Regions from separate parts of the Homo sapiens genome. Here all the other regions are linked to region 1. The links are contacts of gene promoters, found by promoter capture Hi-C in blood cells and fetal thymus (Javierre and others, 2016). All regions are on one chromosome and are shown on one strand. Each heading gives the region's core, a stretch centred on a gene start or on the middle of the fragment in contact. The rest is flanking DNA. Distances are from core to core; before and after follow the strand shown. Region 1 holds the start of MDM1 (Mdm1 nuclear protein). Region 2 overlaps NUP107 (nucleoporin 107). Region 3 overlaps RAP1B (RAP1B, member of RAS oncogene family). Region 4 has its middle 6.9 kb from the start of RAP1B. Region 5 has its middle 48 kb from the start of IFNG-AS1. Region 6 overlaps RAP1B (RAP1B, member of RAS oncogene family). Region 7 overlaps IFNG-AS1 (IFNG regulatory antisense RNA 1).

Region 1 (3,612 bases), core at 5-2,504:
TAATTGATCTGATCTAAGTCCAGCCCATGGGTACTTTCGCCCCACGGAGGAATTACAAGACTCGGACAAATAAGACTTTTTCCACAGGAAGTTCCTCTGGTATTCACTCAGCCCCTGTAATGCAAAGTACACTTTTGAGTACAGTCCAATTAATGAATGATGTTTTAAAGCAGACATCGGTGAAAAATAATTTCTGAACCTCCCAAAAGAGACTTAAGACTGAAAATTAAACACAGACGAGCTCCTTAATAAGAGCTAATATTCACCCAGCCCTGTGCTAAGCAGTTCACACGTGTTATATCCTTTAATCCACAACACCACTTGAGGCAGATGCTACCAGGAATTCCAGGCTCAGAGGTTACCCTTTCACTGATTATCTGATTCCAAAGCATGAGTTCTTGTCGGATAACTAATGACAATCTAAATTCTCATCATTCTAGATTTATCGCAGGTTTTCACCGAGTACACAATATTATGTACCATGCCTAGGACCTTTTGCTATTTGATAAAGTCAACAAAAGGCAAACTCCCCTTCCATTCTGAATACACGCCTTTAAGATAAATGAGTCAGGAGATGTGGGACGCTGTGGCCACCTGTGAAGTTGCAGGGTGCTAGTCCCTGACAGCTACCAGCTACCTGGAACTTTTAACATACGCTAAGAATGCACAACGATGAAAAACGTGTATTTCTTTATACGCTGTCTTTACTAAGAACCCATTTCTCAAGCCTTTAAAAGCCACATACACTAAAGTTTTAAAGGTAATGGGGGTTAAATGCTAAGCTAAATGGGCCACAGGTGTCCCAATCTGAAGTCGCCTTTAGTTCTCTTCGCAAAGGGACCTCCTCCCATCTCCACTCCTCTTGAGTCCCCCTAAGTAAATGTGTCTCGCACCATCTGACTCTTCGACACACTGCAGCTTGCAAATGTGAGTGAGCGGAGAGGGAACTAGGTTAAGAGGCGGCGGGCAGATTCTGGGGCCCCTCGAGCAGGCCCTGGGGCTGGCAGCTTCCGCCGGGCAGAGGGCTGCAGCGCAGAAAAGCAGCGTGACCTCGGCGCTCCACACCTCCCCGGCCATGGCTCCCCCCAGCCACATTCCGGCCCGGGGACCCCAGCCTCACCTTGAAGCGCACCGGCATGTCGCCCGGCGCCGGAGCCCCCGCTACTCCGACAGTTAACTGGAGAAAAAGCTCCGAGGGGGCGGGGCGATAACAGTGTTCCCTAGCAAAGCCTCGGCCCGGCGTCCCCGACTACGCGCCGGCGCACTCCGCGCTTCCCGCCTAGAGGCCTGTCGGTCTGTTTTTCCCCGCCCTTTTTGGAGCCTAGGGACCAATAGAGACTCGCAGAGTGCCTTACCTCCATTAGGATTTGACCAATGAGTGGCCGAAAGGGAGCCGCCTACCTCCCTTGCCAAATCCCTGGGGCTGATAGAGATGGCGGGCGGAAGGCCGGCCAATAAGGCTCCCGGAACCGGGCTGGGCGGGACCCCGGGGGTGCCTTCCTGGGTTGGGTGGACCGGTCCCTGGTTCGCCGGGTCCTGCGCAGCAATGCGTCTGCTTGCTGGTGGAATTCGCCAGCCGCCAGCCTCGCTGGCCCAGGTGCTTGACAGCATCAAAGGTCAAAGTGTGTTCTTCATGCTAACATCTATGAGAAAACCGAACGCTTCTTTTTCTGAAAGTGCTCAGATTTATTCTGCTGAATATCGGTTCGTACAAACGACAGCCGCATTACAGTTTATTGTCACATCAAAAGGGAAAGGCCAAAAAAATATATAACTTAGGCAAGATTTTTGAAACTTTATTGAAACTCGAAAGACAAACTGCTGTCTCTTCCTCCAGTGATGTTCTTCCTCCTTCAATCTCTACCTTCCCCAAAATGATGTACATACAGCCCTTAGATGAGAAAACGTTTATTGAAGATGGTTGTCTCAACTTCCAAACCTTCAGCCTTGTCTCTCCGCTCAACCTTTTTTTAAAAATAAAACTTCATCTGATTTTAATCGACTATTGCCATCATCGTCGATAAATGTTTCTTGACAGAATACTGCTGATTCTGAGAATTGGGAAAGAAAGAAATTGTCCAGATAGTTCTCTGATATACTTGGGAAGGACATACATCTTTATTTATTTATTTATTCATTATTTATTCAATAATGGTGTAATGTGACATGTGCTAAATTTCTAAATGAAAGGTGTCAATAATAAGGGCTACAGGATCTGGGAGCAGGGAGTCATTTCGGACGGCAGAAGATGCGTCAGGAGGAAATATTCAGACTGAAAGGACTGCAATAAGTAAAAAGTGGGACGATGAAAGGGCAGATGTCTGAATGGAATGCTGCCAGGCTTCTTCCAGGAACAACAAATGAGTGCCTTTTACATTTGTCATGTGTTGACTGAATAAAAGTATACCACTCTTAAACTTTCAAATATCAACACCAATCCTTGATGCTTCCCTTTAAGCATTTTCCGCAAAAGCTGTCTTCCTGAATCCTGATTGATGTCTTTGTTCTTCATCATCATCGAGATACTTAAAAATCATTTGAAGAAGCCACCTGATATCTGGAACAAAGAGCATATTAAATTAGTCCCAATGCAGCCATGCATCCAGGGGGCCCTTGATTAATGTTAATTGGTGATGACAGCATCTCTGTCGTGTAAATTAAGAATGGCACAAACAAGACACAGTGGAACATAGAACAAAAGTCATCTGCAGGAAGGCAGCCCATCTTACAGAGTAAGAAAGGCACAACTTTGGTTGTGCACACAGCTTTGTTACCACAAAATGCTAAGGTGAGATCAGCAAAAGCAAGTGTGTAGAATGTAGCCTGCCTGCTAAACAAGCGCAATGATCACTGCAGAAGAGCTCTGCTGAGCAGGGAGTAAATGACAGGAAAACCAAACAGCAGATTGTAAAAATAACTCAGTCACATCCCAGGCTTGCTAGAGAAGTATCATAAAGACTTAAGGAAGAAGATTTTACTTTGCTATTGTTAAACAAAAGCCTACCCAAGTTTAAGAGGCAAAGATATAGGAATGGGAAAAAAAAAAGTGACTACCTTAGTAAATGAGTTTTGTAGCCTGTGTTTTACCAGCTCTTATCTTCTCTGCTACTGCAGGAAACAGTACCCAGTACCCTACAAAGCTCCACCCATGTTTTGGGGAGTCCCTAGGAGGTATTTCACATGTGCTCGCAGCAACCACATAGCGTATGCCGGGCAGCACTGCCCCTTGTTCCAATAGCCATGCATCTGTAGGTGTCACTCTTGCTGCTGGCTATCACAGCCACTTTAGCTTGGTACTGAGTCTTCACTGGGCACAGCAACTGGGTACAGCCACTCCTCAAACTGCCTGGCATTGGTGGTAATCTATGGCAAAGCACCTCTCCTTTTTGCGTTACCCTCTTTGAAGTGAGTAACACTATGTCTTAGAGAGCCTTCTTTTCATTTGTGTTTTAGCCTTTCTCATCGCCAAAGGGCTCAAAATGAAGTCCGTGGAGTCTAAGCCAAAAAGTAATTCCTCAAGTGACAGATCTCATGCTATGCTTCTCTCTTCCACTAGCTAAGGCCCTCTTACTGGGACAGTGGTATCACACCTGGCTCACTCTTCCCTTTGTT
Region 2 (3,587 bases), core at 555-3,054, 380 kb after region 1:
GATTTAAAATATACTACAGCATTTTGGCTGGATGAGGTGGCTCATGCCTGCGATCCCAGCACTTTGGGAGGCCGAGGCAGGTAGACTGCTTGAGGCCAGGAATTTGAAATCAGCCTGGCCAACATGGTGAAACCCGTCTCTACTAAAAATACAAAAATTACCCAGGTGTGGTGGCAGGCACCTCCCTTCTTCTTGGGAGGCTGAGGCATGAGAATCACTTGAGCCCAGGAGGCAGAGGTTGCAATGAGCTGAGATCAGGCCCACTGCACTCCAGCCTGGATGACAGAGTAAGACTCTGTCTCAAAAAATAAATAAATAATTAAATAAAATATACTACAACATTTTATATAAGGGCCTTGAACATCCACAGATTTTGGTATCCACGAGGGGTCCTGGAGCCAATCCCCCATGGATACCAAGGGACGACTATATGTTTGCTAGAGGTTTCAGTTAGTCTAACTTATGAGGATATATATATTTTTTACATCAAAATGGCAAGGTAAAATTTATGAAGATATTTTTATGAAATATTCTGGTACCTGTCAAGAAGTCCATGTAGCTTTTCTCCTTTAACCCATGGATAAAATGGATTAATTAATTAATTTGACCCATTCTTGAACTGGTCACAATATATTATCCTTTTAATATACTGCTTAGTATTACTTGCTAATATTTGTATTAAATTGTCTTTTAAAGTCAGTTGTAAGAGCCTTGGATTGCTCTTAGCTTTTATTACTTATCAACTTCTATATAGACTATAAAGGATTTTAACGTTTTTAAATGTTTAGTTTCTAACATGTAACAGGGCTGTATTCAGCCCTGTATTACAGTTTTTTTTTTTTTATTTTGGGATGGAGTCTCACTCTGTCACCCAGGCTGGAGTGCAGTGGCGTGATCTCAGCTCACTGCAACCTCTGCCTCGTGGGTTCAAGTGATTCTCGTGCCTTAGCCTCCGAGTAGCTGGGATTACAGGCTTGCGTCACCACGCCCAGCTAATTTTTGTATTTTTAGTAGAGATGTGGATTCACCATTTTGGCCAGACTGGTCTCGAACTCCTGACCTCAAGTGATCTGCCTGCCTCGGCCTCCCAAAGTGCTGGGATTACAGGTGTGAGCCACCATGCCTGGCCTATTAAAGTTTTTTGTTTGTTTTATTTTGTGTTTATTTTTCCCCAAAACACCATCTCTGGGAAAATGGAATTTTAAATTTCAAGTGTAAAGAATCAATATACCAGGTAAGAGCAGCTACAATTGATGTAGCAGTTTGGAATTTACACAATAGATACCTTTCAATGATGAATATACAGATTTACTATGTGGTAAAATGTTTATGTATAGATGATTAACTGTACTTGTTTCATACTGGCTTTTTATCTTTCTATTAAAATAATATTTCTTAACAGCATCTTCTTTTCATTCTGTTTATCCTTTTAATATTTTTCATAATAGGCTGTTAATGCCAGTGAAAAAACAGTTGTGGAAGCGTTATTTCAGAGGGATTCACTTGTTCGACAAAGTCAGGTATGACTAGAATTTAAAATTTTTTTTTATGAAACATGGAGAAAAGGTTAATGACATGCAAAGTACTGAAGTGTTTTTTAACTTAAAACTGTTTTCTGAATTTTTTTTCTACTTGATCTTTTTATTTGCAATTAAAAGGAATTAGAAACCTTATTCTTTGATTTTTAAGTAATAGCCCTAGTATTTTCAGGAATAGCCTGTTAAAAACGATTATTCCTATAGAAAATTTTATTCTTTTGCCATAATATTTATTTATCTTAAAGTAAAAATAGTGTTTGGAAAAATTGTTACTTGATATTTTTAAAATCAGAAACTTCACGCCTGTAATCCCAGCACTTTGGGAGGCCAGGGCAGGCAGATCTCGAGGTCAGGAGATCGAGACCATCTGGCTAACAGTGAAACCCCGTCTCTACTAAAAATAAAAAAAAAATTAGCTGGGTGTGGTGGTGGGCGCCTGTAGTCCCAGCTACTTGGGAGGCTGAGGCAGGAGAATGACGTGAACCCAGGAGGCAGAGCTTGCAGTGAGCCGAGATTATGCCACTGCACTCCAGCCTGCACGACAGAGTGAGACTCTTTCTCAAAAAAAAAAATAAAAAATCTGAAACTGTTTGAATTAAGGGTAGTAGTACCACTACAAATAAAACACAAATAGATTTGGTAGTTAACACTAATTTATTTTTTTCTTTCTTTCTTAGCTGGTGGTAGATTGGTTAGAGAGTATTGCCAAAGATGAAATTGGAGAATTTTCTGATAATATTGAGTTTTATGCAAAATCAGTATATTGGTAAGTTACCAAACTTTAATTCTTAAGGTCACTCAATGTTGATATTGTTCATTCATCTTTCAATAAGTATTATTCAGTTTTTACTTTGTTCACACTACTTTGTTCACACTACTTTGTTTGGTGTGTGAGCAAAACAAATAAAGGCTTTGCCTTTATGGAATTTATAATTGTTTAAGAGAGTTAGATAGCTGATTTGCAAATATACAGTTGGCCCTCTGAGTTTGTGGGTTTCGCATCCATGGATTGAACAAACTGCAGATCAGAAATAATTGGAATAAAACAAGCCGGGTGTGATGGCTCACGCCTGTAATCCCAGCACTTTGGGAGGCCAAGGTGGGGGATCACGAGGTCAGGAGTTCCAGACCAGCCTGACCAACATGGTAAAACCCTGTCTCTGCTAAAAATACAAAAATTAGCCGGGTTTGGTGACGCACACCTGTAATCCCAGCTACTTGGGAGGCTGAGGCAGGAGAATCGCTGAAATCCAGGAGGTGGAGGTTGCAGTGAGCCGAGTTCATGCCATTGCACTCCAGCCTGGGCGACAGAGCAGGCCGTCTTAAAAAAAAAAAAAAAAAACAGAAAAGAAATAATTGGAATAAAACAATAAAAATAACAAGATAAAAAAAGTAATACAAATTTAAAAATATAGTATAATAGTTATTTGCATAACATTTACGTTGTATTAGGTATTCTAAGTAATCGAGATGATATAAAGTATATGGGAGAACATGTGTAGGTTATATACAAATAATACAATATTTTATGTAAAGGATCTGAGCACCCTTGGATTTTGGTATCCAAGTAGGGTCCCCTATGGATACCAAGAGACAAATGTATATTCTGTTGGGTATTCCGAGCTTTGGGGAAAAAAATGAATTAGAGGCTCGGCGCTGTGGTTCACACCTGTAATCCCAGCACTTTGGGAGGCTGAGGCGGGTGGATCACGAAGTCAGGAGATCAAGACCATCCTGGCTAATGCGGTAAAACCCATCTCTACTAAAAATACAAAAAATTAGCCAGGCGTGGTGGCGGGCGGATCACGAAGTCAGGAGATCAAGACCATCCTGGCTAATGCGGTGAAACCCATCTCTACTAAAAATACAAAAAATTAGCCAGGCGTGGTGGCGGGCGCCTGTAGTCCCAGCTACTTGGGAGGCTGAGGCAGGAGAATCGCTTGAACCCAGGAGGCAGAGGTTGCAGTGAGCCGAGATTGCGCCACTGCACTCCAGCCTGGGTGACAGAGTGAGACCCTGTCTCAAAAAATAAATAAATAAATAAAATAA
Region 3 (3,457 bases), core at 539-3,038, 310 kb after region 1:
GATTCAAAATACTGATGTATGCACAGGTTTTTGCTTTTTTATATTGACATGGAGGGTTCTTACATGTTTTTGAGCTAGTAGATTAAAGAGTGGAACAGTGGGCCGGGCACGGTGGCTCACGCCTGTAATCCCAGCACTTTGGGAGGCCAAGGCGGGCGGATCAGGAGATTGAGACCAATCTGGCTAACGCGGTGAAACCCCGTCTCTACTAAAAAAATACAAAAAATTAGCTGGGCGTGATGGTGGGCACCTGTAGTCCCAGCTACTCAGGAGGCTGAGGCAGGAGAATGGCATGAACCTGGGAGGCGGAGGTTGCAGTGAGTCGAGATGGCGCCACTGCACTCCAGCCTGGGTGACAGAGCAAGACTCCATCTCAAAAAAAAAAGTCGAGCAGTGATTCTCAACTGAAGGAATAGCAGTCCTCTTTAGTGTACTGAGTGGCAGCTCAAACCATTGTTACTCTTATTTTAAAAGTTACTTTTTTTTTTTTTTTTTTTTGAGATGGAGTCTTGCTGTGTCGCCCAGGCTGGAGTGCAGTGGTGCGATCTGGGCTCACTGCAACCTCCACCTCCTGGGTTCAAGCAGTTCTCCTGCCTCAGCCTTCCGAGTAAGTAGGATTACAGGCATGTGCCACCACACCCGGCTAATTTTGTATTTTTAGTAGAGGCTTTGCCATGTTGGCCAGGCTGGTCTTGAACTTCTGACCAGCCTGGTCCAGCTGGTCCAGTGATCCAACCGCCTCGGCCTCCCAAAGTGCTGGGATTACAGGCGTGAGCCACCACGCCTGGCCTGAAATTTATCTTTTGTTGACGAGTATGTGCAAGGTGTTGTGTCAGTGACTCTGAAGAATTACTACATTTCTTTCCTTATTCTTTCTTTAATTTATTGATCACATATTTCAGGCACAGTTTCAGGTTCTGGGAATATGGCAGTGAGTAAAACAAAAAAAATCCCTATCCTCATGGAGTTTACATTCTTTGTAATCCATCTCACAACCTTATCATGTAGCTGTTACTATCTTAATTTTACCTGGAAGGAAAGTGAGGCTCTGAAAGGTTTCGTGACTTGCCCAAGATTATAGAAAACCACAATTTGAAACTTAGGTACCATTAGCCACTATGCTGTGCTGTCAAAATTGTCCCCCCATGGGGTTCTGTGAAAGAGAACAATTAGTCTCAATGTCTCAAATAGTAGTTGTCACAAATGTCTTTGAAAATCTGATGTAACTATTCCCATTTTTAATTGTGCATGAAATTTTAGGGAATTGACATATTTCAAAGTGCTCATTCTTAACCTGAGCTAAGGACTTCAGGAAAAGAACACTTGAACAGAAAGGTTATGCCTAAAGATCACAAATACGCTATACAAATAACAGGTGCTACAGCTCTTTCCCAGTCCCTACCAGCACCACAAGCCAATTATGTTGCTTATTGAACAGAGTTGTCTTTTCTGCAAAACTAGATGCAACCACACCATCCTAAAAACAGGATAATGGCTGTTGCCAGTCAGTCAGAGTTGGCATTCGCAATAAAAATCTGTTTTTCAGTCTTTTCAAGGCTGGTGTAGTAGAAAGCACAGATTTGAAAAATACTGATTCAAATCTTGACTATTGTACTGTTGGGTTTTTTTTGTTTTGTTTTGCTGTTTAAGGTAACAGAAATACCCTGATAATATCCCCAAACTGGAAATCAGCTGGTGTGAATGGGTAAAGAAAATATCATGTATTCATGTGGTATATTTTAATCAACAGTAATAAATAAAAGGAGCAAGTTACTGATAGATACAATAATATGGATGAACCTGACTCATTCTAGCAACAAATAATAATGCTCATTCATGGATAAATGAAGCAGCTGGGAAAAAGAGTCCCAGTCACCTCACTAAGAAGTGTAGCTCCCACAGCCAACTCAGCCACCTTTGTGAAATAAGAAAGGCATACGTCTCTTAGAAAAATCACCTCTGATAAATGTATAGTTTTTATATTCAGTATTTTAAAATTGTAGTTTTTATGTTGTTTCGGTCAGTTGTGTTATGTTTGGAGGTTTTAGTGAATATATAGTTATGCAGCCATCACTACAACCAGTTTTTGGTGTGTTTTTTTTTTTGAGATGGAGTGTTGCAGTCTCACCGGGGCTGGAGTGCAGTGGCACGATCTCAGCTTACTGCAACCTCCACTTCTCGGGTTCACTCGATTCTCCTGCCTTAGCCTCCCGAGTAGCTGGGATTACATGTGCCCACCACCATGCCCAGCTAATTTTTGTACTTTTAGTAGAAACGGGGTTTCACCATATTGGCCAGGCTGAACTCCTGACCTTGTGATCCGCCTGCCTCAGCCTCCCAAAGTGCTAGGATTACAGGTGTGGGCCACTGCGCCCGGCCCACTACAACTAGTTTTTAGAACACTTCCATCACCCCCAAAAGGTTTCCTGTGACTATATGTAGTCAGTCCCACTCTCACTCCCAGTGGAGGAAGGGTGGAGAATTGGATGCTCATATTTCCTTTGGAGCAGCAATAATGAACAGATTTGGGGTTATTGTACTTCCATTTGTTAGTGAACATGCAACATCAGTTCCTCCTGTGGCTCTGTTTGTACAAGTAGCCTCATCTGTGGGCTTGCATTTCTTCGAAAACAAAGACCTTTTTATTTAGTTTTTTCTAGTTTGTTTGTAAGACTCTGAAAATCTCAACCATTGTAGATTTTTTCGGATTACCAATTTTCCATTTTAGGTTTCCTATTTCAGACCTGAACCCATATACAAAAAGAAAGGCCATCTCTTTACTTTAACTGTTGGGTCTTTGCCAGAATACTTTTGAAAATTTCCTTAAATCAATTTTTATTTTGTATCCTATTGAATCTTTTTGAGACAGAATCTCACTGTGTTGCCCAGGCTGGACTCCAGTGGTGTGATCTCAGCTCACTGCAACCTCCACCTCCCAGGTTCAAGCGATTCTCATGCCTCGGCTTTGCGAGTAGCTGTGATTACAGGCGTGTACCACCACACCCAGCTAATTTTTGTCTTTTTTTGTAGAAACAGGGTTTTGAAGCCGGGTGTGGTGGCTCACGCCTGTAATCCCAGCACTTTGGGAGGCCGAGGCAGGTGGATCATGAGGTCAAGAGATCGAGACCATCCTGGCCAACATGGTGAAGCCCTGTCCCTGCCCCCCACTCCACTCCCCGCCCCCCCCCCCCCCCCCAAAAAAGGGTTTTGCCATGTTGGCCAGGCTGGTCTTGAGCTCCTGATTTCAAGTGATCCACCCACCTCAGCCTCCCAAAGTGCTGGGATTACAGACATGAGCCACCACATCTGGCCGAGTTCTTGATTACCTAAGCTATCCTGGTCAGATACACTGCTCTTTTTTTCCCTTTTTTTTTTTTTTAATTTCCCCAACCTTGCTAGACTGCTGGTCTTACAGGATTTTGGGGAATTAGGAAGTTCCATGGTTGGCAAACTTTCA
Region 4 (3,747 bases), core at 740-3,239, 270 kb after region 1:
CAGGAAGAGGAAGGGACAGGCCAAAGAGAAATTGAGAAGGAGCAGTCAGAGAAAGGAGGAAACCATGAGAATGTGGTGCTGTAAAAACTAAGGGAACAAAAAAACTTTTCTTTTTTAAGATGGAATTTCACTATTGTCACCCAAGCTGGAGTGCAGTGGCACAATCTCAGCTCACTGTAACCTCTGCCTCCTGGGTTCAAGCAATTCTCCTGCCTCAGCCTCCCAAGTAGCTGGGATTACAGGTGCCCGCCACCATACCTGACTATTTTTTTGTATTTTTAGTAGAGTTGGGGTTTCACCTTGTTGGCCAGGCTGGTCTCAAACTCCTGACCTCAGGTGATCTGCCTGGCTTGGCCTCCCAAAGTGCTGGGATTACTTGGCCTAAAATAGACTTTTTTTGAGCTTCCCTAATAATCAAATAGCATGTTAACGTACTCATGGTATAAACTTTATAGCATTGTTTCCATTGCAGAAATATCTTCAAATTGCAAACTACTGACAAACACAACCAATTTTTGAGAACTGTCATAAGCAAAGCAATGTGAAAGTTTAATAAACATTTGTTGAATTCTTACTATGTTTGCACAAAGCATTATTGTGCCAGAGGAAGTAGCAGAAAGCAACATATATTGATAATCCGTTAGATGATGATAGCCAGTAGTTAATAGAGTGCTTACTCTGTGGTAAGCACTATTCTATTTGTACTGTGAACTCATTTAATTCTCACAATAACCCATGACATAGGTTATATTATTGTACTCATTTTACAAATGAGAAAACTGAAGTACCCGAAGTAAATTCCTCAGGATGAGTAGAGCCTGTATTTCGACATGTGGAGTATGGCATCAGAGCTGGTCCGCTTAACCACTACTCTATATTACTTCCATTTTGACATGTGACCTATTTTAAATCCTTTTAAAAGGCCTAAATTATAAACATTGTTATGAGCATTTTAAAGACTAATAAAAAGGCCAGGCATAGTGGCTCACGCCTCGAATCCCAACATATTGGGAGGCCAAGGCAGGAGGATCACTGAAGCCCAGGAGTTTGAAACCAGGCTGGGCAGTATAGAGAGACCCCTGTCTCCACAAAAAAAATTTAAACATTTAGTGGGGCACAGTAGTGCCTGCCTGTAGTCCAGCTACTCAGGAGGCTAAAGTGGGAGGATTTCTTGAGCCGAGGAGTTTGAGGCTGCAGTTAGCTGTGATCATGCCACTGCACTCCTGGCCGACAGAGCAACACCCTGTCTTGAAATTTAAAAAAGAATAAAGATTAATAAAGAGAAACTTTCAAAGGCTAAATAACTGCCAGAGGTAAATCCACTATGATTAATTTGGAGACTCTAACCAAGATTAGAAAGACCTCCCCCTACATTTGATTCTAATCTGTAATGCCTGGCAGTATAGTAGGTACAAAGAAGTTTAAGATACAGTTTCGGTTTTTGAGGATCTCAGAATGGAAAGAAGACAAAAGCAACTTAAGTAAGGCAATGTATGATAAGTACCAAATGGAGTGGTACAAACAACAATTATTTGGAAAATTCAGAGAAGGAAGGGACCACTGGGTCTTGAAGAATGACTAAGATTTAGATAAATACAAAATAGAAGAAATTTTCTCATCTTTATAATGGGTCTTTAAAACCTACCTCTTGGAATTTGATAACTATTACTGAGATACGTGACTCATACACAGGACTTGGCCATAACTGGAACCAGAAGCTAAATACTATCCTAATAATAAAGTCCCAAGAAATGCTTGACTCGCGCATATTGGGCATATTAGCTGTTTGATTTGGGGACAGCCCAGATTCTGAAAGTATATGTGGTTTTTGAAGATTTTCTTAATTTAAAATTTCTTTTGAAAATTTCATAATAGGGTATATTTTATGAAGTTGGTTTTTCCAATAGTTTTGTGCTTTTAACACTCATTTACATGATGGCTCTGGTAATGCCATTTTCATTTTTACGGTTTTTCTCAGCTAAGACTTGAGATGGGGAAATTTTAAGTATAATCTGTTCCTTACATCACAGACCTTAGCAATGACAAAATTAGAGGGCTGTTAGATTTATTTAATGTGGTGTAGGCAGGTTTGGTGGTCAAGCCCACAACTGCTGAAACTGAGTATAGACAGAATTTGAAATATATCTTGAGACAAATAAGCAGTTATTACAGTTATTACACAGAATAGAAACATGCCAAGCTGCTTCATTTTTCTTATATATAAGTGCATGGTTTCCCCAAAACAGAAATCTTAGAGGAACACAAACTACCCTAGGAGAGTATGAGTTCTGAGTGTTTTCTCATAATAGCAATGGTCTAATATGCTCTTACCTGGTCTCCTGTGTGATTAAGTGGTAGAATTTATAAAATAACTGCATTGAGTTTGGAATGCAGTCTTTGACCAAGAAAATAGAAGGAAACTACTGAAGATGTAATTTTTTTCTTTTTCTTGCTTTCTTTTTTTTTAAAGCAGCTGTCTACAAACTAATAACTAGAGATGTAAGCCATGTATTTTTTCTCTTTTGCATCTAATAAGCAGTCTTCTTATTCTTTACAACTTCCCAACCCAGTCACACAGGGTGTTGCAAAGGTACAGAACTGTATTTATATACCATACACTATATATACATACATAGATTTATATAATACATGCATACACACACACACACATCAGAGGGAAAAGCCAGTAAGGAAGTGAAAGGATCAAATTCAATATTGTTAATTTGTGAATGAAATAATATACTAATGTTTAATGTTAAGGAACATTAATGTTACTGATAACCATGATAAACTGGAAGTTAAATGTTTACATTGATAATCATTAACTGTCAATTAGGAAAATTATAAATCTGGGTCTTTTAAAAATCCAATTTTGGATTTGCAATAAGACCGCTACTCATATGGACTTTTTAAAGTGAAACCAATGAAGCATAGATGTTATTCCTTTAAAGTAAAACTTTTGGCCAGGCACGGTGGCTCATGCCTGTAATCCCAACAGTTTGGGAGGCTGGAGGCTGAGGTGGGCGGATCACCTGAGGTCAGGAGTTTGAGACCAGCCTGGCCAATATGGTGAAACCCTGTCTCTACCAAAAATACAAAAATTAGCCAGGCGTAGTGGCGCACGCTTGTAATCCCAGCTACTTGGGAGGCTGAGGCAGGAGAATCACTTAAACCCGGGGAGGCGGAGGTTGCAGTGAACCAAGATTGTGCCACTGCACTCCAGCCTGGGAAAGAGTGAAACTCTGTCTCAAAAAAAAAAAAAAGTAAAACTTTTAAGGAAGTAAATAATATGAAAAATTAGAAATACTGTTATCAGGTTAAATAGTTAAGGACACTATTAATTCACTTTCTTTAAAAGGGGAAAAACTTGCTTTGAGCTGCTTCTTGTTCCAGAGACTGAGACATTGCTATTTTCTACACACTATTTTACAACAGTTCTGTAAGGCAGATATTATCATCCCATGTTATAGATGAGGAAACTGAGATTCAACATGATAATGGGATTTTTCCAAGACCACTAGGCTAATAAGTATAATAAGAGCTGGACTCTGATTCTCACCCCCTCTGCCATTTCACACTACCTTAGGAAAAGAAAACTCAGCAAATATATCTTAAATGCCTATTATGTGGAAAGCACCAAACTGTGTTTCTTATAAAGATAAGAAATATGATCAGCACAGTGGCTCACACCTGTAATCCCAGCATTTTGGGCATCTAAGGTGGGAGGATCACTTGAACCCAGGAGTT
Region 5 (3,268 bases), core at 526-3,025, 290 kb before region 1:
CCCTGTCAAAGCAAGAGGTGGCTAGTGCTTCATCCAGGCAAAGAAGCCAAAATTGTTCTGGAAACTTTGGTGGTGGTCATGGAGGCAGTTTTGGTGGGATAGACAACTTTGGTCATGGAGAAAACTTCAGTGGTCATGGTGGCTTTGGCGGCAGCTGTGATAGTAGTGGATATGGTGGCAGTGAGGATGACTATAATGGATTTGGTAATGACACTGGTTATGGAGGAGGTGGCCCTGGTTACTCTGAAGAAAGCCAAGGCTATGGAAGTGGTGGAGAGGGTTGTAGAAACAAGGGCAGTGGCTTCTGTGACAGCTATAACGACGGAAGCAGAAGGGGCTTTGGCAGTGGTAGTGGAAGCAATTGCAGAAGTGGTAGAAGATACAATGATTTTGGCAAGTACAACAATCAGTCTTCAGATTTTGAACCCATGAAGGCAGGAAACTTTGAAGGCAGAAGCTCTGACCCCTATGGTGGTGGAGGCCAATACTTTGCCAAACCACGAAACCAAGGTGGCTATGGTGGTTCCAGTAGCAACAGTAGCTACAGCAGTAGCTACTGTTTTTTGTTTTTGTTTTTTTTTTTTTTTGTCGTTGTTGTTTGGAGACGGAGTCTCGCACTGTTGCCCCCGGGCTGGAGTGCAATGGCGTGATCTCGGCTCACTGCAACCTCTGCCTCCTGGGTTCACACAATTCTCCTGCCTCAGCCTCCCTAGTAGCTGGTGCCCACCACCACACCCAGCTAATTTTTTGTATTTTTAGTAGGGATGGGGTTTCACTATGTTGGCCAGACTGATCTCAAACTCCTGACCTCGTGATCCACCCGCCTTGGCCTCCCAAAGTGCTAGGATTATAGGCATGAGCCACTGTGCCCAGCCAGATTTTAATTACTGTCACGAGACAAAGCTTAGCAGGAGAGGACAGCTGGAAACATGACAAGGAAACTACAGGTTACAACAGATTTTTTAACTCAGCCAAGCACAGTCGTGGTAGGACCTAGCTGCTACAAAGAAGACATGTTTTTGACAATATTCATGTGTATGGGCAAAAATCTCAAGGACTGTAGTTGTGACCAATTGTACAACAGTTTATTTTAGTTTCTGTTCTGTAGAAAGTGTAAACCATGCCTATAAAGGGTTTTAATGTCAATTTTTCTTTGCACCCATGCTGTTGACTGCTCAATGTAATAGTCTGATCATGATGCTAATTAGATGTGTCCTTTAAAAAACAATATGATGTGTTGTAGTACATTGGTTGGCTGACATTAATGAAAAGACCTACCTATTAACATTGATAACTAAATCTGGACTTCTCTCTATAAAGCTACCCAATTGGGTCCCACTGGCTGAACTTTATATGCTTCAGTGGTGTCTTAACAAAAGACTGCCTCTAAATTAGACTAAGTGTCTTAGAACCCTGTGGTCTAGAGAAATGAAGTGAAATGTAATAGCTGGGAGAAACAGGGCATTATACATCTTGAAAGAACTATCTTTCAAGATAAACTAGCACCCCACTCTAGCCCAGCTTCATGGCTGACTCTCAGAGCATCATATTTTCCACTGATGGGCTGAAGATTCATAAATGTAGTAAACCACTGAAAACAATTGCTTCATAAGACTTCTTTAGAAAATTCCTTATGGTACTACATCTACAATGTAGAGGGCTTGTCTTCAGCTCCCTCAACATCTCAAATTTTTTGACACATTCAGTACATGCCTGTTATGTCTTTAATCCCAGAACACATGTATTTTCCCCTTCCAGATGATTTCTTTGCAGATTTCACAATGGAGAAGAGCTGTCACAGGTGGAAGTAATCATGCTGTCACAAAGATATTACTTTTTTCTTCCAGTGCTGGAAGGCAGTCAGGAACAAGCCATGCATTAGTTTAAGAGCCATGAGATGTATAACTCCAGTTTTTTAAAGCTCATAGTAGAAAATGAAGAGGGGGCAATGGCATAGCAGGTGAATGCATTTGGGGTGTGTTACAGACCAAGCAAGAATCAATCACTTATGTCTGTCAGACCAGATGGATCTGGAAACAGTTTAATCCTCAGGGCCAATGTGATATGTTGTGATATGTGATATGTCACAATAATATGTTTTCCCCGCAGGTTTCAAGCCTGTTTAAAAAAATGTTTTTAAACTTGAAAGGAAGACAAGTGACCAATATTATAAGGTTAATGCAGAAAATAATGGTCATAGTATTTAATAAACTTCAATTTATCAAATAAACCTGTATGTCAGTCTTTCTGGCTTTAGGCCTGTTTGCATCAGAATTATCCTGGAGGATTCTTAAAACAACAAAAATAAGCACACAAACATCTATTTAATCATAAGGGAATTTTCACCTAAAATAATCTCCCCCTGTGATGTAGATTCACACTGGAGTTGAGTATAATAATTTTGCTCTCATCAAAAATAATCGGAAAGAGAGGAGCTTTGGGATATGTCATTTTGATCTAAGAAAACGTATTGGCTTTCTTGCTGCTTCTTTGGATTCTTTTTTGCATATCATCTGGCAAGTGAGCAGGTGCACAGCTCTGATAAGCAGGAAGGAACCCCCGACCCCACCACCACTGCCTCAGAGCAAATACTCAATAAATGGTCACCTCATTTCCACCCCCCTCCCTACTCCCACCCACCAGGCAAGAAAGCTTAAACCTAGTAAAATCTCTGAGTGCTCAACATGGAATGGAAAACCCAGAAGAGCAAGGTTGGAAATTGTAGCTGGGAAGTCTCAAGTTCTCTGGTTCCTCCTGGAAGAGGGCATGAAGGTGGCTTTGTGTAAATATGGGCATATTGATTTTTATTTGATGAGCCATAGAAAACTAGATAGTCCAGAAATAAATAAAGGAACTGGGAATGTTGGAATCCACAAATATTGACCATCAGTTTGGGATTGGCAGCTTCTCTCCTTCCCATCTTTATTACAAGTTATAGCGCCGTTACCTTAGATGCACACATGCTTTACAATAATGTTTTTGAAGCCAAGCCCTAGAGATTTCTCAAATATGCTTCCTATGTCTTTCTAGAGGCCCAAGCACACACCTCCCTCATTTATTGCCTCCTATTCAACTTGCGCAGCTTTTATGTGGTTTACATATAAAGCTTCTGTTTAAGATTGTGTTGTCTGGGCGCGGTGGCTCCTGCCTGTAATCCCAGCACTTTGGAAGGCCGAGGCGGGCAGATCACGAGGTCAGGAGATCGAGACCATCCTGGCTAACACAGTGAAACCCCGTATCAACTAAAAACATAAAAAATTAGCCGGGC
Region 6 (3,468 bases), core at 246-2,745, 290 kb after region 1:
GTAGAATCTGCATATTAAAGGAGTTTTAGATTAACAGTGAATTACAGTGAGCAGTACTACAGAACTACAGAAATTGAAGTAAATTCAAGAGTGTTTTGCCCTGGTAGATGTTTGTAAAATTGATTATAGGGCCATAATCCCTTATCTATATATAACCTTTGGTGCCAGGTATTTTTGGATTTCAGAATTTTGAGGAAAGATTTGTTTTAGATTTTGGTAAGAGTAATCAAACACAATATTAATGTGGAACATGGATAGTCACATTAAGTGAGAGAAATAAAAGATAAAAATAGTCTCCCATCAGTGCTCAGGTGAAGTTTTGCCATTATATATTAGGATTAAGCTTTGCCACCAACATAGTTATAGAACTTTGAGTTTTCAGAGATTTTAGGATTTCAGAATTTCTATAAGAAGTCGGTTTCAGGCTGGGTGTAGTGGCTCACGCCTGTAATCCCAGCACTTTGGAAGGCCAAGGTGGGTGGATCACGAGGTCAGGAGATCGAGACCATCCTGGCTAACACGGTGAAACCCATCTCTACTAAAAATACAAAAACTTAGCCGGGCATGGTGGCGCACGCCAGTAGTCCCAGCTACTCAGGAGGCTGAGGCGGGAGAATCGCTTGAACCCAGGAGGCGGAGGTTGCAGTGAGCCGAGATTGCGCCATGGCATTCCAGCCTGGGCGACAGAGTGAGACTCTATCTCAGGGAAAAAAAAAAAAAAAGAGAGAGAGAAGAAATTGGTTTCAAATGAGTTAAAAAGGCTTTATTCATTACTGTTTGGAGAAGATACCAGGGTCTGAAAATGTTACTTTGAAGCAATTAGCTTTAGAAACCCTCTTTGCCAAGGAATTGTTTGACCCTGACTCAGGATGGAATGCAGTGCTGAGGGTGATGAGTCTTTAGGGTATGGGAGAATCACCTCATTCTATAATTGCAGAGTCCAGTTAAATTTGGAAATAGTTAAGATTGGTGCCTAACAAACACTAACATTTTTTTAAATGTTTAAATATTGAGAGCTCATAACTACAGTTTCATCTTGGTGATTTTTTTAGTCTTATAAGGTATTAGGCAGTTTGTTTCCTAATAATGTTTTTAAGAATTATTTGATACATTTAATTGTAAGAATACAATAGATTAGAATAGGAATATTATAAATAGGACTAATGTAATCCTCATTTAAAAATCCTCAGACCAGACACGGTGGCTCACGTCTGTAATCCCAGCACTTTGGGAGGCCAAGGCAGGCAGAGCACTTTGGGAGGCCAGGGCGGGCGGATCACTTGAGGCCAGAAGTTCGAGACCAGTCTGGCCAACATGGTGAAACCCCATCTTTACTAAAAATATGAAAATTAGCCAGGCATGGTGGTGTGTTCCTGTAGTCCCAGCTACTCGGGAGGCTGAGCAGGAGAATCGCTGGAACCTGGCAGGCAGAACTTGCAGTGAGCTGAGATCGTGCCACTGCACTCCAGCCTAGGCGACAGAGTGAGACTCCGTCTCAAACAACAACAACAACAAAAGCTCCTCGATGGAACCATTTGATAGTGACAAGGATTGAAGTAAGTATCTGAAGAGGCTACTTAGAAACTCAGAATTGGTTACAGGAAGTGACTGCCCACTTTCCATGTGTTCTTCAGATGCTCTGGTTATTCTAACAGCCTAGTTAACCACCCAGACTTTGGTTCTCATTGCCTTTATCCATTTGTTTGGTGTATATACTAATGTTCAACGATGCACACATAATGCATGTGATGTTTTTTGGATACCGTCTTATCACTTGTAGAATTGCCATGATAGGCATTTTTTGGAGCTACTTTAAGTACTTGCTGGCCTAGTAATTATGCAAGTAAGTAATTAAGTGTTTATTCATATGTGAAAGCCCAATGTAAGCATTATTTATGTCTTTCAGTGAAGTGTGGTGTGCCTTTCATTTTTCTGAGTGGTCTTTATTTTATGGAATATTAAATGGATCTTTGAATAAACTCAAGAGGGTAGATTATAAAAGGAAGAACTGTTAAATTAGTCAAAAACAACTTTATAACACAATTAGCTGCATAAGCCAGTGCGTGCGTAAGCAGGTAGTATAAATGCTTAGGTTGAGATACTAAAATTATTATTAGAGAAAATTACAGGAAGTACCTATGCTCCCACTATGTTTTGTTACTTGGTTAATTTTTCTCCTCTGAACTTCTGGCAGGTTTACTGGGGAATTTTCCATTAGGAATATTCTGGTCCTTAAGTTTCATTTTGAATGTATAATATAATCATGCAGATTACGAACCCACAATCTAAAATCAAGGCATTCTTTTTTAAAGTTTCAGATGAGGCTGGGTGTGGGGCTCATGCCTGTAATCCCAACACTTTGGGAGGCCGAGGCGGGTGGATCATGAGGTCGAGAGATCGATACCATCCTGGCCAGCATGGTGAAACCTCCCCGTCTCTACTAAAAATACAAAAATTAGCCGAGCGTGGTGGCGCGCACCTGTAGTCCTAGCTACTCGGGAGGCTGAGGCAAGAGAATTGCTTGAATCCAGGAGGCAGATGTTGCAGTGAGCCAAGATCGTGCCGCTGCACTCCAGTCTGGCGATAGAGCGAGACTCTGTCTCAAAAAAAAAAAAAAAGTTTCAGGTGTATTCAGGAGTGGTCATATTAAGCTTGTCACCTGATCCTGGTTATGAGGTTAACAGCAAAATGAAATAAAATATTTTTCTGAGCCATTTGTTTCTCCTCTCATGGAAGACACTAATTCTGTTTATTTCTATATTCGGCCTTGTGTTGAAACAGACTGTAAAATCATGTTTTAAAAAAGCTTCACCCATCCTTGTGGAGGGTGGTGGTTTGCAAAAGCACCACCCCACTTAAGCATTTATATTGAGAAGATATTTATGGCATTCTTCCATTCATGAAAATGGGTATGCTTTGTTCTGGAGTTCTTACCTTGATTTATCTACTAACACTAAAGTTCCTCACTTCCAATTTCTTATACCTCTAACCCAACAGCTTATAAACTGCATGTAGTATAGTATTTGCTTGAAATATGTGAAAGTAGTTATTTTCCCTAACTAATAGGGATATTTCTGTGGTGGTTGTAGTTACTTTGCAACCTGTTCAGCAAATATTATAGGGCGTTTTTGATGGTATCTTTAAATTTTGGACATAGAGAACCATCTTGGATAACCTCTTTCCCCCCAGTCTCAGTCATCCCTTTGGAGGTAGTGTCTCATTTTTAATCTGTGACTTGTGGAAGTTAAGGCATTTGAGTAGCTTATTTAAAGTATTAATAATCTGATTTCTGGAGATCTGAGGAATAGCAGACACCCTTTTCTGTATTAAATTGGGGAAATTTATTTTATAGGCAAAAAGATGAATAAAATGGTCCTAGTAGACAGCCCCTAATATTTCTGGTCTCGGGTAAAGGTCTTAAGGAAGAGGGAAGGTAGTATCAGAATTTTCCAGGGTGTTTTTTTTTTG
Region 7 (3,426 bases), core at 864-3,363, 320 kb before region 1:
TAGACTCCTGACCCATGGAAACTGTGAAATAATAAAAGCATGTTGTTTCAAGATTCTAAAATAGTGATAACTTGTTACAAAGCAATAGAAAAGGAATATACCCTTAGAATGATTTTTTAAAATCACATGGAAGAGTGCTTATCTATAAAAACAGTCAGTGTGTGTAGTAAAGGCACAGAGCCTAAAGCCAGACTACATGGGTTCATGTCCCAACACCACCCCTCCTTGTTGTGTGACCTTGGGCATGTTCCCCTGTGCTTCCATGCCTCCATTTCCACATTATGAAACGAAGATAAACACAGGACTCCATTCATAGGATTATTTTGAGAATTAAAGGACTTCAGTTATGCAAAGTCCCTAGAAGGGCAACTGGCACACAGTAAGCACTCTATGAATCATTAACTATCCTTATATGATGCAGCTCTACTAATTGTCAGTGGAGCTAGATATATCAAAGACTTTCTTCATATACCCCCTTGACAATTAAGAATGTCATCCTAATATAAACACTCAAGGCATTTGAAGAGATCAAATTTATCACTGTGTTGAGTTTCAATAATCTATTTTAGTCAGAAAAAATAAATAATGGATGAAATGATGCAAGAAATACAATCTCAATTTTAAACTGAAAAAATAGCTGGTGGAGACCTAATCATTCCTGAGAGTTTCTTAATGCCCTCTCTCCCCTAAGATTCAAATATCAGTCACAGTTTCAAAGTAATCACTATAATACATGAACAGCTGATGAAATCTCATGTTGTAATTGCCACATGTTATTTTCAAGGAATTGCACAATGCAAAACCTCTATATTTACACAATAAAATAGAAGGAAAATACTTTTGGGAAGGCTACTTAGCCATGACAGATAGATAGAAAGACAGAAGAATAGGAGGCAGAGATAGAGAAAGACAGAGGAAGGGAGAGATGGAAGAAAGAAGGAAATAGATGACTTGGTGCCCTCACGATGAGATGATACATCTTGAATCCCCTGGGTCAAATGGAATCTTAAATAAATAAGTGAAGCTTCTTCTGAAGCAATATAAATTGTTGAGCTATAGCTTCTTTAAAAAATCAGGCAAACTAAAAATGGAAAACCATTGTCTTAAGATATCCAACTAGAATTTAGCTAGGAAAAGGAAAAAGTCAATTGTGATATGAAGTTCAATACTGCTAAAGACTAGCTACCTCAGAATTGCAAGGGGGATCTTTTAAAAATTAGAGATACAGCCAGGCGCAGTGGCTCATGCCTGTAATCCCAGCACTTTGAGAGGCCGAGGCAGGCGGATCATGAGGTCAGGAGATCGAGACCATCCTGGCTAACACGGTGAAACCCCATCTCCACTAAAAATGCAAAAAATTAACCAGGCATGGTGGTGGGCGCCTGTAGTCCCAGCTACTCGGGAGGCTGAGGCAGGAGAATGGCGTGAACCCAGGAGGCAGAGGTTGCAGTGAGCCAAGACCACGCCACTGCACTCCAGCCTGGGCGACAGCACGAGACACCATCTCAAAAAAAAAAAAAATATGTAGAGATACATAGTCTTTATCCCAGAGATTCTAATCTAGGAGTTCTGGAGTTCACAGCAGGAAACTGAATTTTTAAAAAGCTCTTTATTAGTTAAGGTAAGTTTTAGAAAGAATCAAATTCCAAGGTGTCAGTAGATTAGCACAATAGAAATTAATTTCTTGTTCGTAGGATGGCTCATGGTGAGGTTGGTAGGAGGCTTCTCCACATGCAGTCATTCAGTGACCCAGACTATTTCCATCAGTGGCTCTCCCATATGCTAGGGTTTCATAGTCATCCGCATCCACCAAGTAGAAGGGGAAACAGCATGGAGGAGCACTATGGGAACTTGTAATGGACCAGACTGAAAGTAGCATGAATTTTCTTTTTTCCTCTCATTCTGTTAAGGAGATCTCAGTCACAGGGTGACAGCTACCTACAAGGGAGGAAGGGAAATACCATCCAGCTGGTGTTCCAATAAGAAGAGGCAGTAGATTTCAGTGAACAGGATGAGTGTCTGCTACAAGCACTCCATGTGATTTTATGTACAACTGGTGCATGATTGAAAGTTCACAGTTGAAAATACAACTTTTGAGTCCAAATAATCTAAATTCCAAACTTGGCCATTTGACAGCTATGTGATCTTAGGCAAAATATCTCCCCTCCTTGTGCCTTGGTTTCTTCAGTTATTCATCTTTTAAGTAAAGATTAAAAACATCCTACATTGTAAGGTTCTTGTGAGACTGAAATAAGACAATATGTTTAAAATAATTAGAACCATAACTGGCACTTAATAGTAACACATATTTTACTTAAACTGTATTGTCTAGGAATCAAGGTGTTCTGCTATTTGAGATAAGAACTCAGATGCATCAGTATCAGAATATATATTTTGTCCCAGCTGAATTATTACATTGGAACAGTTTTTTGTTTTTGTTTTGTTTTGTTTTTTGAGACAGTCTCGCTCTGTTGCCCAGGCTGGAGTGCAGTGACACAATCTTGGCTCACTGCAACTTCTGCATCCCAGTTCAAGCAATTCTCCTGCCTCAGCCTCCTGAGTAGCTGGGACTACAGGCGCCCGCCACCACGCCCAGCTAATTTTTTGTATTTTTAGTAGAGACGGGATTTCACTGTGTTAGCCAGGGTGGTCTCGATCTCTTGGCCTCGTGATCCACCCACCTCAGTCTCCCAAAGTGCTGGCATTATAGGCGTGAGTCATTGTGCCTGGCCTGGAACAGTTTTTAAAGGTAGAATTTTAACACACCAGAAGTTGGTTTCTTGCTCTCATAAAAGTTCCTGGGCAACTGGGCAGCTCTCCTCCATGCAGTCATTCCGAGATCTTGTCTTTTTCCATCTGGTGGCTCCCCAATCCCTAGGCTTTATCATCATCTCATCCAGTGTGTAGAGATACACCAGGGAAGCAGTACTCACTGTGGTCAGAGCTAAGAATTCAGTGCTGCAGTATTAAAATATTTGAAGCCCACTGAAAGAATAATTGATGAGTTTTAAAAATAAAATAAAAGCAACTTCCAAAATTAAGAAATTGAAAGTGTTGATAGTTGATATCTCAAGCTGATATTTACAATAATCTGATGATTTTAATTCAGAGTGTTTCAGATATTTTTAGATTTAACTTTTGCCACATATGAATGTTTACCACTACACCCAAGGGACTCCATGAACACTTCTGGAATAGGACCTAAGCTTTATGGTGCTAATCATTTGAAGCAAGTGAAACCATCATTGATAAGCTTGATGCTGTATCATTGAAAGGATTAATTTACAGAGTGGTTCTGAAGTCTGGACCACTATTAAGGCACTGTCCAATCAGTGAAGTTATCTATTTGAAGTAGAGATGACCTTTGTTCAGCATTTTTCAAAGCTGAGTAATGTATAGGCCTCTTTAAAGAAAAAAAATTCTCAC

Evidence for each region. Contacts are between HindIII fragments. The CHiCAGO score rates a contact against its expected background, and 5 or more counts as called.
Region 2: a contact is called between a fragment that was not itself captured here and the fragment with the promoter of MDM1 in region 1, in 1 of 17 cell types (megakaryocytes). The highest score is 7.3, in megakaryocytes.
Region 3: a fragment that was not itself captured here is called in contact with the fragment with the promoter of MDM1 in region 1 in 14 of 17 cell types (megakaryocytes, M1 macrophages, M2 macrophages and 11 more); the score reaches 18.7 in megakaryocytes.
Region 4: a fragment that was not itself captured here is called in contact with the fragment with the promoter of MDM1 in region 1 in 7 of 17 cell types (megakaryocytes, neutrophils, monocytes and 4 more); the score reaches 12.5 in megakaryocytes.
Region 5: a contact is called between a fragment that was not itself captured here and the fragment with the promoter of MDM1 in region 1, in 2 of 17 cell types (activated CD4 T cells and naive CD8 T cells). The highest score is 8.0, in activated CD4 T cells.
Region 6: a fragment that was not itself captured here is called in contact with the fragment with the promoter of MDM1 in region 1 in 6 of 17 cell types (megakaryocytes, M1 macrophages, monocytes and 3 more); the score reaches 14.5 in megakaryocytes.
Region 7: a contact is called between a fragment that was not itself captured here and the fragment with the promoter of MDM1 in region 1, in 1 of 17 cell types (activated CD4 T cells). The highest score is 5.1, in activated CD4 T cells.

What each region holds. Positions count from the first base shown.
Region 1 is chr12:68,331,108-68,334,719 of GRCh38, forward strand. It overlaps MDM1 (Mdm1 nuclear protein), which reads right to left and starts at 1,255. Exons shown (of 15, transcript NM_001354969.2): 1 at 1,121-1,255; 2 at 1-114. The coding sequence starts at 1,138. It overlaps LOC105369819 (a long non-coding RNA gene), which reads left to right and starts at 1,524. Exons shown (of 3, transcript XR_945057.3): 1 at 1,524-3,612. RefSeq lists an enhancer at 806-895 and a silencer at 1,196-1,455. The HindIII fragment of the contact is 10,890 bases long and covers 1-3,612 here.
Region 2 is chr12:68,707,790-68,711,376 of GRCh38, forward strand. It overlaps NUP107 (nucleoporin 107), which reads left to right. Exons shown (of 28, transcript NM_020401.4): 9 at 1,449-1,520; 10 at 2,216-2,304. Among named protein-coding and RNA genes, the nearest start is that of NUP107, 23 kb to the left of the region's middle. The HindIII fragment of the contact is 6,708 bases long and covers 1-3,587 here.
Region 3 is chr12:68,644,209-68,647,665 of GRCh38, forward strand. The region is part of intron 1 of RAP1B (RAP1B, member of RAS oncogene family); the gene reads left to right. Among named protein-coding and RNA genes, the nearest start is that of SNORA70G, 19 kb to the left of the region's middle. RefSeq lists a silencer at 3,407-3,457. The HindIII fragment of the contact is 5,436 bases long and covers 1-3,457 here.
Region 4 is chr12:68,602,097-68,605,843 of GRCh38, forward strand. No RefSeq gene overlaps it. Among named protein-coding and RNA genes, the nearest start is that of RAP1B, 6.9 kb to the right of the region's middle. The HindIII fragment of the contact is 4,363 bases long and covers 1-3,747 here.
Region 5 is chr12:68,036,293-68,039,560 of GRCh38, forward strand. It overlaps the pseudogene HNRNPA1P70. Among named protein-coding and RNA genes, the nearest start is that of IFNG-AS1, 48 kb to the left of the region's middle. The HindIII fragment of the contact is 1,749 bases long and covers 902-2,650 here.
Region 6 is chr12:68,623,318-68,626,785 of GRCh38, forward strand. All of the region lies in intron 1 of RAP1B (RAP1B, member of RAS oncogene family), which reads left to right. Among named protein-coding and RNA genes, the nearest start is that of SNORA70G, 2.3 kb to the right of the region's middle. The HindIII fragment of the contact is 2,308 bases long and covers 342-2,649 here.
Region 7 is chr12:68,006,909-68,010,334 of GRCh38, forward strand. The region is part of intron 3 of IFNG-AS1 (IFNG regulatory antisense RNA 1); the gene reads left to right. Among named protein-coding and RNA genes, the nearest start is that of IFNG-AS1, 19 kb to the left of the region's middle. The HindIII fragment of the contact is 2,182 bases long and covers 1,023-3,204 here.